Regions from separate parts of the Homo sapiens genome. Here region 1 is linked to region 2. The links are contacts of gene promoters, found by promoter capture Hi-C in blood cells and fetal thymus (Javierre and others, 2016). All regions are on one chromosome and are shown on one strand. Each heading gives the region's core, a stretch centred on a gene start or on the middle of the fragment in contact. The rest is flanking DNA. Distances are from core to core; before and after follow the strand shown.

Region 1 (3,756 bases), core at 104-2,603, 210 kb before region 2:
GTCTATCACACAGAAGGAAAAATAGCTTATGATTCTACTCATGTGAGCTTCCTAGAGTAGTCAAATTCAAACAGACAGAAAGTAGAGGGGTGATTGCCAGAGGCCGAGGGGAGGGGAAAATGGGGAGTGAGTATTTAATGAGTATGAAGTTTCAATTTGGGAAGATGAAACATTCTGGAGATGATGGTGATGAGAGTTGCACAACAATGCGAATGTACTTAATGCCACTCAACTGTAGACTTTAAAAGTTTCAAACAGTAAACTTTGTTATGTATATTTTACCATAATAAAAATAAATGTGTCTGTCAGTAAAGACTGTCTTCTTGCTGCAGCAGGAAATGGTGTTGGCTTGAAGGCCAGCATCGAGGGCACGTGGGTTCACCTCTTTGAACCTCAGCTGTATCATCCATCAAATGGAACTTACACTATCTTCCTTACTGCCAACTGTGAAGAGTGGATATGAATGCATTTAGTGAACAGAAATGCACCATAAGAATGTAATTTTTTTTTTTTAATTTGAGATGGGGCCTCCCAAAATGTTGGGATTATAGGCATGAGCCACTGAGCCTGGCCAAGAATATAAAATGTGATTAAAGTATTATTTCAAAATTCATTGTTATGGTACCCAAATGCCAAGAGGCAAAAGGAAAGGAGAAAGGGAGAGTTTTGGAGGAAACTAAGGAAAGGGTTATTTATATCTGGCATTTCTAGGAATTGGAAAATACCCAAATACCGTAGGAGAGTTGGAGAGAATTTTGGGCTCGTGCTCAGGGGCCTGAAGGTAAGACCAACTTGGACTATCATGGCAATTTAAAATACTTCTCCCTTTTGCTCTGCCTAAATTGAGAAACAGGTTAAGCCCACCCATCAAGAGGAAATGAAACAAAATGAAATAATGTCAAAACATCACCTCTCAAATTTCATGAAGGGAAATGGTACAGTTACAACACAATGCTGGGTGGAAGCTTATGGGACCTGGAGCCTCCAGGCATGGGTAGAACCCAGGTTCATCACCAGAGAGTCCCATTAACTGTCAATGATTTATTCAATGCATTTCTTTTTTCTATTTAAAGAAATAAGCCATTGGCCGGGTGCAGTGGCTCACGCCTGTAATCCCAGCACCTTGGGAGGCTGAGGCAAGCAGGTCACTTGAGGCCAGGAGTTCGAGACCAGCCTGGCCAACACGGTGAAACCCTGTCTCTACTGAAAATACAAAAATTAGCTGGGTGTGGTGGTGGATGCCTGTAATCCCAGCTACTCGGGTGGCTGAGGCAGGAGAATCACTTGAACCTGGGAGGCGGAGGTTGCAGTGAGCTGAGATCACACCACTGCACTCCAGCCTGGGCAACAGAGTGAGACTCCGACTCAAATAAAATAAAATAAAGAAATAAGCCATTCATCACTACCATCACTTTTATCATTACAAAATGTTTTATTAGCATATATTAGCATGTGGCAAGCACCAATTTAAATGTGGTACACACCTTATCTTTTCATTCCTTGCAAGGTGCAGCTTTTTTATAGATAACAATATGAGACTCACGATTACTGATTTGGTCTTTCTGGTTCTTTGTTTCCTGATTGATAAAATGAGAATAATGTTATAGCTAGAGAAGTTTAGCAGCTTGCCTCAAGTCACAAAGCTGGTAAGTAGTAATGTCAGGATTTCAACCCAAGTTCATCTGACTCCAAAGTTCCACCTTTGAATGCTATACTGCATTGGAGGAAACATTATTGCTAAGAAGCTTATGAAAGAAAATTGCTAATGAATATTATGCTCTGAGAGCAATTAGAATGTGCAATTGGTAAATCGCCTTATCATGGCATTGCATGATGTCACAATGACATGCAATGGGGAAGAACAATGAGCATCATGGGTGTGTATTAGCAGAGATTTGGCTTTAAAATGGAATGAAACCACAAAGTACACAAAGAACAGAGTATGAGGCTGGGCGCAGTGGCTCATGCCTGTAATCCCAGCATTTTGGGAGGCGGAGGCAGGTGGATCACTTGAGGTCGGGAGTTCAAGACCAGCCTGGCCAACATGGTGAAACCCCGTTTCTACTTAATATACAAAAATTAGCCGGGCATGGTGGTGCACACCTGTAGTCCCAGCTCTTCAGGAGGCTGAGGCAGGAGAATCGCTTGAACTCAGGAGGTGGAGGTAGAGGTTGCAGTGAGCCGAGATCACGCCACTGCACTCTAGCCTGAGCGACAGCACGAGACTCCTTCTCAAAAAAAAAGAAAAAAAGGACAACTTATGAAACAAGGCTTTGCTGCTTTATGTATGTGTACTGTGTATGTTTTGTTGAGTACGTGCTGTATGCTGCACGTGTTGCATGTGTATGTGTGTAACGTGGGTGTTGTGTGTGTGTGGTTGCATAAGTGAAGGAGAGTTGCATGATGAGTGATTTCTTCAATACTGAAGGCCGTACAGTCCCACAGCCAACACATAGTGCTTCCTGTGAGCCAGGCATTCCACCCAGTGTTTTACATATAATCCCTCACTCATCTTCACAACAACTTTGTGCGGTAGCTAGTAACAGTATTCTCATTTAGTGGACGAGGAAATGGAGGCTCAGAAGGATCAAGCATCTTGCCCTAGATCACCTAGATGGTACAAGGGAGAGCTGGGATTTGAACCCAGGCAGACTGGCTTCAAATTCTGTGTTTTGGTCTTTTCTTCATTTGTGTCCCTCTCGCCTTGTGAGAAATGATAGAATTATTCTCATTACATGATGGGAGAACCTGGGAACAATGTGAACATGTGTTGGCTCAGACAACAGTCTCAACTACACACTGGGGAAACGTGGGGAGGCAAACTCGTTTCACTGATTTGTCTCCTCTAAAACTTCTCCCTTTGCTGAATCCCACTTTTTTTCCCCTCTCTTTCTACAGGTGTTGATCCCAACTGTACAACCTGAATGCTGTTCTCAGAGTCACTTCCTGGTAACCCAAACTATGACCCAATAAATATTAGCTACTATCATCATCATCAATAATAATAATTATCATCATCCAAAAGCATTCTAAATAATAGAGAAAATAAGAGAAAGGGGGCAAAGGGGAGAGGTTTCCCTACTAACCAGGAGGGGTGATGATGTAGGGCAATACAGAAAGTCTAGAACAAGAACATGTCTCTGTTTTTTTTTGAGACAGGATCTCGCTTTGTCTCCCAGGCTGGAATGCAGTGGCACAGTCATGGCTCACTGCAGCCTCGACCACCTGGGCTTAAGTGATCCTCCTGCTTCAGCCTCCTGAGTAGCTAGGACTACAGGCATGCACCACCACACCTGAATAATTTTTTTAAAAAAATTTTTAGTAGAGACGAGGTCTCCTTATGTTGCACAGTCTGGTCTCTAACTCCTGAGTTCAAGGAATCCTCCCGCCTTGGCCTCCCAAAGTACTGGGATTACAGGCATGAGCCACTGCACCCAGCCCCCTGTGCCTTTTGAGGAGTGGGAAGAGTTATTAAATAGAGCAGAGGACTCCTTCTCAAATCCCTGTCTCTAGTGACTTCTGTATGGGTTGGAACTGATGGTTGTATCATTCTCTCCCTCCACTATTAAGGGTATAATACATGGTTACACTTTTATCTTGCTATTCAATTTCCTGCTGTGGCTATTCTGGGAATTTGGCCAGCACCTTTCACATATAAAAGCTCAGCTTTAGTGCTGTGAGGAGTTGGTTGGGCAGAAAGCGACAGAGGCTCCTGGTTTTATAGTCATGTGGGGACAAGATTTAGCTTTCCCAAAT
Region 2 (3,586 bases), core at 980-3,479:
AGAAGTGAAGTCTGTTTCTCAACTCATTGAGTCTGAACTGGCCTTGTGACTCTCCTCGGCCAATAGAATGTGGCAGGTTCTGAGTTCTGTGCTAGCTCTGAGCCTGGGTTCCATGGGGCTTCGAATGCTTCTGCTCCTACTCTTGGAATCCTGCCACTATCAAATAAACATGCTCCGACCAGCCTGTTGGTGGATGAGAGACCATGTGGAGGAGAAATGCCCAAGGCAAAGCCAGGCCAGACCAGTCAATTATCAGCCAACCTACCAGCTGTCTGAGGACACATGACCGAGCCTAGCCGAGATCAGCCTAGCCCAGCCTATCCCCAAAGAACCTTTCAGATGACCCACAGACTCATGAGCCAAATAAATGGCTTGAGTCATCGAAGTTTCTGGTAGTTTTTTGGGCAGCGAACACTGATAGACTATCTCATTTAGACAAAAAGTCAAGCTTCTTTTTACTAACTGTATCCTCAGTACTTAGTGCCTGGCACATGGTAGATGCACCATGAACGTTTGTTGAATATATTAATAAAGGTGTAAATGGTTTTAACATTCTATTGAGGGAAACAGGAAAAAGATAAATCAGTAAACGAATAAAATAAGTATAAAATTGGGTAACTGCTATGGGAGAAATGAATAGTAGCTGAGGTAGAGGATAAGAATGAAGGTGGAAGGGGAAACCCTCCATGGGCTCACTGTGTCTTTCAGAATGAAAGCTAAAATCCTGATGTTGGCCTCTAAGGCCCTCCCTGACCGGGCCATTACCTCACTGACCTCATCGCCTGCCACTTTTGCTGCCTCTGATATCCAACTACCTGGCCCCCCTGCTCTTTTTCCAATACTCAAGCACACTTCCACCTCAGGTCCTGGAATGTCCTTCCCTGAGACACTCACCATTCACTCCCTCTCTTTCTTCGAATCTCTGCTCAGGTATCCCCTCTTTGGGCAAGGCCCTTCTGACCACCCAGAATTCCCTAACCTCCAACCCTGCTTTATTTTCCTCCATAGGAAAGGAATTTTGTCTTACTTAATTTAACCTTAGGGCAATATTGTCTTAGTCTAGAAATTCAGCTCATGGATACAAAAATCCTCTAGGAGCCGTAACTTCCTGTCAATCCTAAAATTTAATAAGGCAAATGTTTGGCTTCGAGCCATACTGGGAATAAGGTAAGGCCTTTTGAAAAAGCCACGATGCCCAGGTGAGGGTTGAATTGATCACTGAGAACCCTACAAATGCGCTCATGGCAAGGCTGGGAATACCCTACACTTACCCTCTCGGTCATTTACTTCAGAGTCTGCGGGGCATTCTAATCCGCGTTGTCATTTGCTTTGTGCCACATTCCTAAGAGGTAGGCAGGGCAGGTTTTATCATCCTCTGTTTACAGATGAAGATAATGAAGGTCACATAGCTCAAGTGAGCTACCCAGGGCCACAGACATACAAAGTGGTAGAACCAGAATTTAAATCTTGGTTGGTCTGACTCCAAGTGTAGTATTTGTTTCACTTTTTCTTTCTTTCTTTCTTTCTTTTTTTTTTTTAACTGTTTCTGCATTCTGGGTTCTGACCAGGTGACCTTGAATCATAAAGATTCAGGGCCTGTCTTGAGCTGCTCAATATGGAAGGCATCTTTTCTCTAAAGAGTGTGAGCTCCCTGCCAAGCAGCACAGGCGCTTAATAGGCTTTCAGAGCAGCAATTCTAGAACCTCCCTTGTGGCTTTCTGATCTCCCACAGCCCTTGTGTTTGATGGTCAGGAAAGGAGAATACCCTTGGATCGTCTTATCTCCAGACCACCCCGAGGCTGGCTGGACTTAAGGGGTGAGGAAAGACAAGATGGGTGAGCAGCTGCTTTCGGCTGAAAACCAGAAAGAAATCCCAGTGTTTTTGCTTTATTTTGGTTTAAAAATCAAGTCGTATGACAATGGAAACATTTTCCTGGTTGTCCTCTCCTCTCTGCCCATGTTGACAGAAGACGGACTTGCTAATTCTGGCTGGGGTTTTTCCCTGCCTGGGCTGTTTTTCTCTTTTATCTTCATCAATTGAAGAGGGCTGCTGTGTCTTTCAAACTGTCGGAAGGTATCTGTATTTTTTTTTCTTTCACATAATTCTGTAGGTCTTTTCCCAGATATGTATTTTTCTCTCTAACTTCTAACTCGCTGAAGTTTCCGCCCATGTGACTTCCAGCGTGAGTTACCAGAAACCACAAGAGAGAGAGAGAGCGTGCAAGCCCCAAAGCGAGCGACATGTCCCTTTGGGGAGCAGTCCCTCTGCACCCCAGAGTGAGGAGGACGCAGGGGTCAGAGGTGGCTACAGGGCAGGCAGAGGAGGCACCTGTAGGGGGTGGTGGGCTGGTGGCCCAGGAGAAGTCAGGAAGGGAGCCCAGCTGGTGACAAGAGAGCCCAGAGGTGCCTGGGGCTGAGTGTGAGAGCCCGGAAGATTTCAGCCATGCCTCACAGCTCCGACAGCAGTGACTCCAGCTTCAGCCGCTCTCCTCCCCCTGGCAAACAGGTAGAGTCCTCCTTTTTCTCTCTCCTACCTTCTGATTCTCCTGGGGGATGGAAAGAGAGCCAGGCTTCCTTGTCCTGCCCAGGGAGCTGAGGATGGAGGAAGTGGCTCGTTGCACGGGCACTCTGTTAGACTTAGGACATGGAATTTGCTACTAAGCTGTGCATATTGGCAGAGATCCTCATCCTTCCACCCATTCTGCCAAAGCCCCTTTTTCTCTCCATTTTCCAAGGCTGCCTATCACCTCTGCCTCACTGGGGTTGCCACCCTAAAAAGCTTTCTAGGAAGCAAAGAGGAGGATGAACATCAAAGAATGCAGAGAAAAGAGTCTACTGTTCTCCAAGGCTGTAGAAAAGTGAGAGGAGTTTTCAAGTGGGCCGCTGGCATGCACAGCTCAAATCCTAGATATGCAGTTTCCCAGGAGACAGCCAATAGGGAAGGGGAGAAAAGGGGTTAGGGAAAAGTTAAAAAAAAAAAAAAAGAAGAAGAAGAAGAGGAAGAAGGAGGAGGAGGAGGAGAAACCCAGGCTAGCATAGAAGGATCTCTCTACTGGGGCACTGCCTCTGTTGCTAGCACAGCCAGCAAGGGGAGATGCTAGAGGTCCAGCCAATATCTCTTTGCTTGTGGCTTCTGGATAGGAGCAAGGAAATGAATGAGGAGGTGGCTCTGGAAATTTGTTGGAAGACATTTGCTGGTAGTTCATCTTAGCTCTGGGGAAACCAGAGAGACTGAGATAGGGATTGTGGGAGCATTTGGAGTCTAGATTGTGACTTCCAAGTCCAAAGGTTTTAGCTTGAGGATTACCAAAAAAGGAGTGCCCTGCCCATCTCACAGCTTCTAGGGTTTTGTTCTGCACCACACTCTTGACATCCCTTGCTGTAGGAAGCCCTCCTCTTTCTCATCCGACATGTATCCGTGGGTTAAAATTTTCTCAACCTTCATAGTTTAAAAACTTCATTCTTTCCTTAGCACAGATATCCACAAGGGTTTTCAAAATGCTGCAGCCAAAATAAAAGTATATAAATATTGAACAGGGCGTATATCCTAAGCCTCTAATAACGGAGCAGCAGGCTGGGATGAGTC

The links. The method cuts DNA at HindIII sites, captures the fragments that hold promoters and counts their contacts. A CHiCAGO score of 5 or more calls a contact.
Region 1: a fragment that was not itself captured here is called in contact with the fragment with the promoter of BATF in region 2 in 2 of 17 cell types (activated CD4 T cells and M1 macrophages); the score reaches 6.9 in activated CD4 T cells.

Annotation. Positions count from the first base shown.
Region 1 is chr14:75,311,632-75,315,387 of GRCh38, forward strand. No RefSeq gene overlaps it. Among named protein-coding and RNA genes, the nearest start is that of LINC01220, 19 kb to the left of the region's middle. The HindIII fragment of the contact is 780 bases long and covers 964-1,743 here.
Region 2 is chr14:75,520,240-75,523,825 of GRCh38, forward strand. It overlaps BATF (basic leucine zipper ATF-like transcription factor), which reads left to right and starts at 2,230. Exons shown (of 3, transcript NM_006399.5): 1 at 2,230-2,506. The coding sequence starts at 2,444. RefSeq lists an enhancer at 2,198-2,527. The HindIII fragment of the contact is 2,331 bases long and covers 447-2,777 here.